3 separate regions of the Homo sapiens genome follow, and regions 1 and 2 are each linked to region 3. The links are contacts of gene promoters, found by promoter capture Hi-C in human tissues and cell types (Jung and others, 2019). All regions are on one chromosome and are shown on one strand. Each heading gives the region's core, a stretch centred on a gene start or on the middle of the fragment in contact. The rest is flanking DNA. Distances are from core to core; before and after follow the strand shown.

What was found. Contacts are between HindIII fragments. The study calls those that stand out against the background at their distance.
Region 1: a fragment that was not itself captured here is called in contact with the fragment with the promoter of MAGOH in region 3 in 1 of the 25 tissues and cell types used here (IMR-90 fibroblasts).
Region 2: the fragment with the promoter of SCP2 here is called in contact with the fragment with the promoter of MAGOH in region 3 in 1 of the 25 tissues and cell types used here (IMR-90 fibroblasts).

Annotation. Positions count from the first base shown.
Region 1 is chr1:52,814,153-52,817,711 of GRCh38, forward strand. It overlaps ZYG11B (zyg-11 family member B, cell cycle regulator), which reads left to right. Exons shown (of 14, transcript NM_024646.3): 13 at 2,380-2,477. Among named protein-coding and RNA genes, the nearest start is that of ZYG11A, 27 kb to the right of the region's middle. RefSeq lists an enhancer at 385-679. The HindIII fragment of the contact is 4,967 bases long and covers 1-3,559 here.
Region 2 is chr1:52,925,182-52,929,056 of GRCh38, forward strand. SCP2 (sterol carrier protein 2) reads left to right here and starts at 2,095. Exons shown (of 16, transcript NM_002979.5): 1 at 2,095-2,284. The coding sequence starts at 2,216. It also overlaps the pseudogene LOC100652967. RefSeq lists a silencer at 1,858-2,137 and enhancers at 2,190-2,705, 2,358-2,417, 2,428-2,517. The HindIII fragment of the contact is 8,329 bases long and covers 1-3,875 here.
Region 3 is chr1:53,236,834-53,240,357 of GRCh38, forward strand. It overlaps MAGOH (mago homolog, exon junction complex subunit), which reads right to left and starts at 1,685. Exons shown (of 5, transcript NM_002370.4): 1 at 1,528-1,685. The coding sequence starts at 1,615. It overlaps MAGOH-DT (MAGOH divergent transcript), which reads left to right and starts at 1,777. Exons shown (of 3, transcript NR_038953.1): 1 at 1,777-2,512. RefSeq lists enhancers at 1,338-1,979, 1,467-1,526, 1,567-1,696. The HindIII fragment of the contact is 12,596 bases long and covers 1-3,524 here.

The DNA.
Region 1 (3,559 bases), core at 109-2,608, 420 kb before region 3:
TGGGATTATAGGCGCCCACGACCACGCCCCGCTAATTTTTGTATTTTTAGTAGAGACGAGGTTTCACCATGTTGGCCAGGCTGGTCTTGAACTCCTGACCTCAGGTGATCTGCCTGCCTGGGCCCCCCTAAGTGCTGGGATTACAGGCGTGAGCCACCACACCCAGCCAAAAGTATTGGCTTTAAAAGAAGCAAAGTATTTTGACTTTTTTCTACCACCTATCACTCTTCATGTTTCCTTCATTTCACATTTGTTGAAGACAAGTGCTAGGAATTTGTTCTATGCTCTTGAAATACAAAAATGAACAAAGACATGGTGTCTGCACACAAGAATTTTATATCCTTGTGAGGGAGAGTGAATGTGGATCAGATAAAATACCGTTATGCCAAATGTCCATAGAATGTTATGAAATTAAAGGTGAAGCCCAGTGGGGTAGCACATACCTGTAGTCCTGGGAGGATCACTTGAGCCCAGGAGTTTGAGGCTGCAGTGAGTTATGATTGCATCACTGCATTCCAGCCTGAGTGACAGAGCAAGACTCCAAATGTAAATACACACACACACACACACACACACACACCTTTCAGAGGAAGTGAGTTGTGACCTGAGTGTTGAAAGATAAGGAGAGGCAGGAGATTTTTAGGAAGAAAAAGCATCGTATTAATGTAGGAAGGTCTAAAATAAAATGACACATTGAAGGAATTAGAAGTAGCACCAGATTTGGGCCAGGCATTGTGGCTCATGCCTATAATCCCAGCACTTTGGGAGGCTGAGGTGGGTGGATCACTTCAATCCAGGAGTTCGAGACCAGCTTGGCCAACATGTTGAAACCCCTGTCTCTACTGAAAGAACAAAGTTAGTGGGGCATGGTGGTGCACACCTGTAATTCCAGCTACTTGGGAGGCTGAGGCATGAGAATCGCTTGAACTTGGGAGGTGGAGGTTGCAGTGAGCTGAGATGGCGCCACTGCACTGCAGCCTGGGTGACAGAATGAGACTCTCAAAAAAGGAATAACACTAGATTTGGTTGGGGAAACAGTTTGTAATAATTTATTAAAGGGCATACTGGGCCTGGCATGGTGGCTCACACCTATAATCCCAACACTTTGAGAGACTGAGGTGGTAGTATCACTTGAGTTCAGGAGTTGCAGACTAGCCTAGGCATCATAGTGAGACCTCATCTCTACTAAAAAATAAAAAAACCTGGGCATGATGGCATACACCTGTAGTCCCACCACTTCGGAAGGCCAAGGCAGGTAGATCACTTGAGCTCAGCCTGAGCAACATAGTGAGACCCCGTCTCTACAAAAAATAAAAAATTAGCCAGTTGTGGTGGCACATCCCTGTAGTCCAAGCTGCTTGGGAGGCTAAGGTGGGAGAATCGCTTGAGCCTGGAAGGTTGAGGCTGCAATGAGTTGAGATCGCCTTACTGCACTCCAGCCTGAGCAACAGAGTGAGACCCTGTCTCAAATAAATAAATAAATGTAAAAATAAATAAATAGGCCGGGCATGGTGGCTCATGCCTGTAATCCCAGCACTTTGGGAGGCCGAGGCGGGCAGATCACGAGGTCAGGAGATCGAGACTATCCTGGCTAACGTGGTGAAACCCCGTCTCTACTAAAAATACAAAAAAATTAGCCGGGCGTGGTGGCAGGCGCCTGTAGTCCCAGCTACTTGGGAGGCTGAGGCAGGAGAATGCCGTGAACCCAGGAGGCGGAGGTTGCAGTGAGCTGAGATCGCGCCACTGCACTCCAGCCTGGGCGACAGAGCGAGACTCCGTATCAAAATAAATAAATAAATAAATAACAAAAATTAAGAAGTGCATACTGGATGCCTAACTCTGTTTGTAATTAGATAACTTGATAATTAAATTACTAATTACCTGAAGTATTTAATTTTTATTCAACTTATTTTTTTTGTTTGGTTCATAAATGCTGATGTTGCCAACATTTTTTTTATTTCTCCAACTTATGTTCCACCTATTTTTATTCAGACCAGTAGAAAATAGAAGGGATAATTATACATCTTTTTCATAGTGTTCTACTAGTTAGTTATCACCTAATTTCTCTATTTCTTAGTTTCCAAACCAAGATCTACTTATCTTCAAATGTGTATCTTTAAGACTAAAAAGTGCTTTTGGAAAAATTTTTTCTCTTTCACTACCATGTTCTAATCACCTTCCATCTTCTGTACTGAGTCATGTCTGAATGCAGTCTTCTCTGAAATGGTTAAGACAAAGAAATGATATTCTATAGCTCATTTATATTAGTCTAAATATAATAGGATAAAATTTTGAAAATGAAAAGTTTAGGAATCACTGCTTTAGGAAATTACGCTAAATATGGGATGTAACTTTGATTCTTTTCTTTTGAACCTTTAGGTCCTTTAATCCATTTTTCCCATTACTTGGCTGTTTCACAACACCAGGAGTTCAGCTATGGGCAGTTTGGGCCATGCAACATGTCTGCAGCAAGAATCGTATGTACCAAAAAAAAAGAACTGTGTTTTTTTTCTTTAAGTGAAATTCTCATTTCCCAGGAAAGATATTTCTAAATTGTGTATTAAAGTGATTTTTAAGAACACTGACTTAAAATGTAAGGCCATCTTAGGTTATAAACTTAAGGTATTCTTTTTTTTTTTTTTTTTTTTTTTTTGAGACGAAGTCTCGCTCTTGTTCCCCAGGCTGGAGTACAGTGGCGCGATCTCGGCTCACTGGAACCTCCGCCTCCTGGGTTCAAGCGATTCTCCTGCCTCAGCCTCCCGAGTAGCTGAGATATCAGGCACCTGCCACCATGCCCGGCTAATTTTTGTATTATTATTATTTTTTTTTAGTAGAGACGGGGTTTCACCATGTTGGCCAGGCTGGTCTCAAACTCCTGACCTCAGGTGATCCGCCCGCCTAAGCCTCCCAAAGTGCTGGGATTACAGGCATAAGCCACTGTGCCCGGCCAACTTAAGGTATTCTTTCAGAATGAGCATGGTGTAACTAGACACTGAATAATAGTGGTGAATGAGACACTGTTCTCACCTCAAGGAATTTAAAGATTAGGAGACTACAGTGAGTCCATTTGTTGAGTAAAAGGTCTTAAGTAGATCCACTGTTTATGGTACATTCCGGTGCCCAATTCTCATTCACCCAAAATTCTGTTGTTCAAGATGTCGCTGCCAGCACCCATGGTTTCTGAAGAAGCAAAGTGTTTGAATCAGGTTCTATATTATTCTTTGAAAGCTACGATGTAACTCTTATTTATTTATTTAGAGACAAGGTCTGTCTCTATCACTGGAGCTGGAGTGCAGTGGCATAGTAACAGCTCACTGCAACCTTGACGTCCAGGCTCAGATGATCCTCCTGCCTCAGCTTGTAGCTAGGACTACAAGTGCACGTCACCATACCTGGCTTTTTTTTGTATTTTTTGTAGAGATGGGGTTTCATCATGTTGGCCAGGCTGGTGTCAAACTCCTAGGCTCGAACGATCTGCCTGCCTCTTCCTCCCAAAGTGCTGGCATTACAGGCGTCAGCCATCAAGCGTGGCCTAATTATTTATTAATATAAACTCATT
Region 2 (3,875 bases), core at 845-3,344, 310 kb before region 3:
CATAGCTTGCTTAAATTCACAGGTCGACTAATGTTTCATTTCATGTGCATGCTAAGTGAAGCTGGTTAGTGATGACCATAAGCAGGTGGAGAAGCTTTCAATATTTTACTTATTTTATCAGTACTCCTGATTTTATAAATGATGAGGCTCATTAACCCCATTCCTACTCAAATCTCCTGATAAACTTGGTTATAATAGGGCTTCATGGGGATCCAAACATTTTTAATAATGTTTTGAAGCATCTTGGTGTGGGACAAACAGCTCAGGCTACCCCAGAGCCCCACATCCAATGACTTAGAAAAGTCTGTGTTTTATAGTGGGAAAAGTTTGGATTATTTAGTCCTTCACATTGGAAAGGGAAGTGTTTTTTCTCAGTCTTTTCGGTATTAACAAATACCTTTTATATTACTATCTATCCCCTCTGCCCTCTATGGACTCTTATTTTGAAAGCAATATCCAGTGGACAGCCAGGATTTGTTACATAACAATTAATCTTGACCTTAGGACTTGTTGTTCTATTAGGTTGGTAACTTTGTCTGATCCACCAATCATATTGCTGTCTTGTCAGTCCATCAGTTTCAAGAAACAACTGTACATGTCAGTGCCCTGATTTGTGTTTGTTTTTCTTTTTTTTTTTTTTTTGTTTCGTTTTGGTTTTTTAGAGACGTGGTCTTGGTATGTTGCCCAGGCTGGAGTGCAGTGGCTATTCAGAGGTGTAATCATAGCACATTTGTAGCCTTGAATTCCCAGGCTCAAGTGATCTTTCTGCCGAAGCCTCCTGAGCAGATGGGAGGCGTGCATCACTGAGCGCAGCAATTTTACTAAGTTGGTCTAGTCCTAGCTCAGTAGTTCTTTACTTAGCACAGAGGGGGCTTCTTAGAATCTCCTAAACTTGATCTTAGCCAAATGGCCAAGAAGCAATCCTTAGAATCTTCTAGGAGAGCCTTTCTAAATGCTGATACTGCAAACCGAAAAGTATATGAAACGGATCTCAATTAATTTAGAAGTTAATTTTGCCAAGTTTAAGGACGTGCATCATCTTTGGAGACAGGTCCGTGCCTTTCTCCAAAGATGATTTTGAGGGCTTCAGTTTTTATAGGGGAAGGGGCAGATATTGGGGAAAGATGAATAAATTTTAAAAAGATGTGGGTAGATAAGAGGCAAACGGTTGCATTCTTCTGAGTCTTTGATCAACCTTCACATGTGAGGGGGGTAGAGAAATAGTCACTTATGCATTCATCTAGCTCAATGAATCTGCATTTTTACATAAGATAAAATAAACCGGGGAGCCGGGCGCGGTGGCTCACGCCTGTAATCCCAGCACTTTGGGAGGCCAAGGTGGGTAGATCACCTAAGGTCAGGAGTTCCAGACCAGCCTGGCCAACATGGCGAAACCCCATCTCTACTAAAAATACAAAAATTAGCGGGGCGTGGTGGCGCGCGCCTGTAATCCCAGATACTCGGGAGGCTGAGGCAGGAGGATTGCTTGAACCTGGGAGGCGGAGGCTGCAGTGAGCCGAGTTCGCGGCATTGCACTCCAGCCTGGGCGACAGAGCGAGACTCCGGTCTCCAATAAACATGGAAGGCTGTTTCTCCCCGGTTTGCTGGAATAAAGTCTCTGTCTTCCAAATTCCTTTTCGGAGAACTTTTGTTCACAAGATTAAAAAGGTCACGCAGCTGGTGACGGAGCCTGGGTTTTTTGATTTAGACATTGTATCCATGTGTGAGATCCTGCCCATCCCCGCTTTCTTGGTGTCCTGTGAGTTTAAATTCATGAATTCACTCTCAACTGCCACCGCTAACAGGACACAGGCCAATTCCAACACGAACCCCAACGGCTCTCCTCAGGGTCACCTTTCATGAGTCCGCTTTCCGGCCAACCCCTCCTCTCAGTCTTAGGCCCCACTGCAAGCCTACTCCCGCTCACCGTACAGAACCTAAGCACAGGATCAGAGATGGGGACAGGTTGACTCAGTCCCATGCCCAAGTCCGCAAATTAGGGATTCGGCTGCCTAAGGGCTAGAGAACGCTCCCCGCCCCACAGGACGCGCCCCACCCCGCCCCCTCCTCCTGCCCCTACGCACGCGCACTCTCACGCGCCTGTGTTGCCGCCCGCGGCCCTGGCTTCGGGCTTCAGGGAGCTCTGGTGCAGTCTCCGCCTGTCAGTGCCGGCAGTCGTCCGCGGCGCCCGCCCCGGTCCCGCACTGGTGCAGCCATGTCCTCTTCCCCGTGGGAGCCTGCGACCCTGCGCCGGGTGTTCGTGGTGGGGGTTGGCATGACCAAGGTAAACCGAGCAGCGGCCCTGCTGGCCCTCTGAGGCTCGGGGGCGGTCGGTGCCTGGGTTTCTCTGTCCCTCCGGTCTCCTAGCTTCGACTGCTCCGCGCGTGGGTCATCGGCGTGGCGACTTGGTGGCTTGTACTCTGCGGAATCTCTGGGGTCATAGCGTCTCGGGCTGGTTCCTGCGGCCTTCTGCTTCCTCCTTCCCTTTTCTTCTGGTCAGAGTTCATGAAGCAGCCCCGAGATAATCCAAGGATCTCACCTCTTTAGATTCTGAGCGGAGTCCCGAGGTGTGTGGGCTGGCTTGCCCCGGAGGGAGGCAGGTCGCGAATGCCGCCTGCTCGGCCCTCCCAGGAACAGCCCCCACAGGAGCCCTCACAGAGACAGCTCCAGATGTGGATGGCGAGGAGAAACGCTCCTGATGCCCAGCGCCTCGGCCCGAGTGGCAGATTCCGGCCTCCCTCTGTCCCTCCAGTGACTGCTTGGGACCCGGACGCCGCAGGCTCCCACGGCCGTTTTCCCCTCATCGCCCGCATGCTCCTTAATGCCAAACTGCCTTTCGTTTCTCCCCGGACGCAGTTGTCTGATGCCTCTGTTGCTTTGCTTCTGTTCTGTTTGTACCGTGTATCTTCACCTGTTAACTTTTGTGCATCCTGAAAGGATCCGTTCAGATCGGATCTTCTCCAGGACGCCTCGGATCCTCCTGACTTTCCCCTAGAGCCTTGCACTGTGCTTACCTCTGTCCTGCACTTACTGTGCTCGGCAGTACCGGGCAGTACTAAAGCTCATAGGCGTCTGCGCGCCCTCTTAGCATGGCAGCTCCTCTAGACTGGGTACCTGGCTTATTCACTGCTGTGCCCCTCGCCCTGAACGTTCCTGATGCTTGAAGACCCTCAGTGAATGTTAGTTGAACAATACTAAATGGATATGCTTTGTGAAAGAGTTCCTAGGGAGAGTTCTATTTCTGAGAAAACAGCCCTAAAATGTTTATTATTTTACCAGTGGGCTGAGCGTACCTAATTCAGTCCAACATGTAAATAGGCCGGGGCCGGTGGCTCACGCCTGTAATCCCAGCACTTTGGGAGGCCAAGGCGGGTGGATCACCTGAGGTCAAGAGTTCGAGACCAGCCTGGCCAACATGGTGAAACCCCGTCTCTACTAAAAATACGAAAATTAGTCGGGCATGGTAGCACACGCCAGCTACTCGGGAGGCTGAGGTGGGAGGATTGCTTGAGCCTGGGAGATGGAGGTTGCAGTGAGCTGAGATCACGCAACTGCACCCCCAGCCTGGGCCATAGAGTCAGTCCTTGTCTCAACAAAAACAAAAAATATCCATGGAAATGGAAAAGTGGACCAATACCTTATGAAGCGGAAGGACATCATCCTAGTGTTTCACAGAAGGGGAGGCTTCTAACACAGGTGGACAGTAGGATCTTTCGAAGTAAGGTATTAATGCAGTCAAACCTTCCTCTGGCTGCTGAATGCCTGATTATATGTGCTGTATGGAAAAGCACAGTTGTCTAAACCTTTGGGAAATAGATGTATTCCTTTTTCCTCAAGTTGGGAGGTAGAGGTCGGGGAGGTGTTACAGTCCAGAG
Region 3 (3,524 bases), core at 435-2,934:
ACAGTGCCTCTGCCAACAAAATCCTATCAACGATCAAAGTCCAGTTGGTTCTGCCTCCAACAGTTTCCTAAATCTTTCTCTCCATTTCTACTATCTCTGTAGTCCCAACCAGTATCTTTTTTTTTTTTTTTTTTTGAGACAGAGTCTTGCTCTGTCACCCAGGCTGGGGTACAGTGGCACTATCTCAGCTTGCTGCAACCTCCGCCCCAGGTTCAAGAGATTCTCCTGTCTCAGCCTCCCGAGCAGCTGGGATTACAGGCGTCTGCCACCACACCCGGCTAATTTTTGTATTTTTAGTAGAGGCGGGGTTTCACCATGTTGGCCAGGCTGGTCTTGAACTCCTGACCTCAAGTGATCCGCATACCTCGGCCTCCCAAAGGGCTGAGATTACAGGCTTGAGCCACCGCGCCCGGCCCCCAACATCTTTCGTGTCTTGACAACTGCAACAGTCTCCTAATCAATAGCCCTGTTTCCACTCTTGCCCATTCCGCACCCAATAACCAGAATGCTTTTTCAAGAAGAGATCACATTTCTTCTCTGCTTAAAACCTTCCAAGCCCGGCCGGGCGCGGTGGCTCACACCTGTAATCCCAGCACTTTGGGACGCCGAGGCGGGCGTATCACCTGAGGTCAGGAGTTCGAGACCAGCCTGGCCAACATGGTGAAACTCCGTCTCTACTAAAAATACAAAATTAGCCGGGCGTGGTGGTGGGCGCCTATAATTCCAGCTACTCGGGAGGCTGAGGCAGGAGAATCACTTGAACCCGGGAGGCGGAGGTTGCAATAAGCCGAGATCGCGCCATTGCACTCCAGCCTGGGCAAAAAGAGCGAAAGCCGTCTCAAAAAAAAAAAAAAAAAAAAGGCCTTCCAAGTCCAAACTTTTTACCGTGGTCTATAAAGACCTAAGAGGTGCCGCTCCTACCTACCTATCCGACATCATCTCCTGCTATCTCCCAGCTCACCACTCTTCAACCACACTGACCACCTGAGACACGCCTAGCTCATTCCCGCCCTGCAGCCTTGACATCTGGTATTCCCTTTGTGTAGAATGGTCTTCCTTATGAGCTTCACAAGGCTGAGCCCTTCTTGTTAATTAGGACTCGGCTGCAATATACCCTTTACAGAGAGCTCTCTAATGGCCAACCTATCTAAAAGCAGCCCATCCAGCAATTATTCTACCATGTTATTTTTTGACCACTCACTGCTATCTGGAATCATCTTTTTGTTTATGATCTCTCTCCCGGCAGTAAAACACAAGTTCCACGAGAGGGGAAGTTTGTCTACCTTCGCTGCCGTATTCCCAAAGAGTGGAACAGAGCCTGGCACACAGTGGGCGTTCAGTCAACGTTTGCTGAATGGATAGAAAGACCCCGTGGAGCAGACACAGTGGCGTTCCTTTAAGATCTGCACTGCACAGGTCTCAGTCCCTCCCTCCTCTAGTTCCCCACAGATTTCCGACCCTCGGCCTCCCCACTCGCCGGCCCCCAGGCCTGGTCCCCGCTCCCGGCGGGCGGCAGGCTGCTTTTACCGTCCGGTCGAAACTCAAACTCCAGGAACTCGTGGCCGAACTTGCCCTTGTGCCCCACGTAGTAACGCAGATAAAAGTCACTCTCCATGGCTCCCAAAAGACAACCGAGCCTGAACTTCCAAGAGCAAGCCGCACTGCCGCCGTCTGCGCCCGACACTGACGTTTGCGGCGGCGCGCGGAAGTGACGTCAGGTCCCGTCGTCGCTGCGTGGAGGGGTTCCTTCTCGCTAACCTCTTCGCCCGGAAGTGGCAACAAGACTGCAACATCCCCTCACGCCTAGTCTGTAAAGAACTTTGTTTAACCCGGAGGCGGGGCCAGCCAGCTCCGCCCCTCCAGCTGGACGCGGGAGCGAGGTTGAGGTTCATACCCCTGGGTTCTCTCCAGGCCTGAGGCGGAGAGCCAGCCGCCTGCCTACCTCTGGGCTTTGAACCCCGGGTCTGGTGACTTCGCTTAAAGACCTCGGGCCGAAGGCCCGCCAGGCTCAACCTCGGTTCACAGGACCCCCGACTTGTGTGAGTCGTACACCGCTCTTTACCGTCTCTGGACCTAGGTCATCTCGGCAGTAAAATGGGGTGAAATGACCCGACCTCCCCGGAGGATGCCGCGCACGATGTGTGCCTCAAGTTGGCTTCCACTGACCTGAACTGTTAAGAAAGCCCTCCTCAGTGACGCCTTCCCTGAATCCACAGTGGAGATTGCCGTTTTCCTGGAACTAATTCACCCACACTTACCCATTTCATCCCTTTCCACCTTTTATTTCTACCTTTCTGCCCCACTGATCTCTAGAATAGGTGCTGGGAGACGTTAGAGTATTTGATCTCCCACTCCCCAGTCATCCCACTTACCGAGCAGTAATTCTCTGCCTGGCTGCACATTGCAATCACTTGGGAAGCCTCTAAAAATACTGATGCCAGGGCTCTACCCCAAGCCAGTTAAAATCTCCAGCGCTGGACCTGGGCATTGGTACTTTTTGTAAAGCTTTCAGGTGAGTCAGAGTTGAGGACCACTGACCAAAGAGGTCCTTTCTTTTCAGGGTAAAGTTGTCCTCTGTGAAGCCTTTCTGGCTCTGGAAAAAATTTACAGTTGAGTAGGCCCAGGGCAATCAAGATCATAATTATGTAATAGGAACCTGCTTTCACTCATCTAAGTTCCAGGCTTAGAAAGAATGAATGGTTCTAGAGACAGTGCCGAGATGACATCATTCTTGGGTCCTGGCGGCTAGAACTGTATACGATTCTGTAAGTTGGGACAGCAGTCTCTGATTCCTATTCCCAGTCTTTTCTTTTTGAGACGGAGTTTCGCTCTTGTTGCCCAGGCTGGAGTGCAATGGAGTGATCTCAGTTCACCGCAACCTCGCCTACCTAATTTTTAAACTTTTTGTAGAGGCAAAGTCTCCCTATGTTGCCCACGCTGGTCTCAAACTCCTGGGTTCAAGTGATTCTCCTGCCTTAGCCTCCCAAGTAGCTGGGATTACAGGCATGCGCCACCATGTCCAGCTAATTTTTGTAATTTTCTGTTTTTAGTAGAGACGGGGTTTCACCATGTTGGCCAGGCTGGTCTCGAACTCCCGACCTCAGGCGATCCGTCTGCCTCGGCCTCCCAAAGTGCTGGGATTACAGGCATGAGCCACCGCGCCCGGCCCTCAGTCTTAACACGGAGTCCTTTTCTCCCTGCAAAAGCATTAGCAGCAGAGTGTAGAGTAGGTGTGGTGGGGGAAAAATCACTGGACACAGGTTAAAATAATCCCTGTGTAACAATGACTCATTGTAACCAAAGGTGAACCGACTCAACTTTTTAGACTTCAGTTTCCTTCTCTTTAAAATGAGCATAATAATGTACACCTAGCAGAACTGTTGTAAGAAACAATGTCTCGGAAACTAAATTGCTGTAAAACCATAAGACATTTTTATTACAAAACACTGGATATGGGTGGTAACAAGGGAATTGTATAAACGAGAAGGGGGCTAGACACAGTGGCTCATACCTGTAGTCCCAGC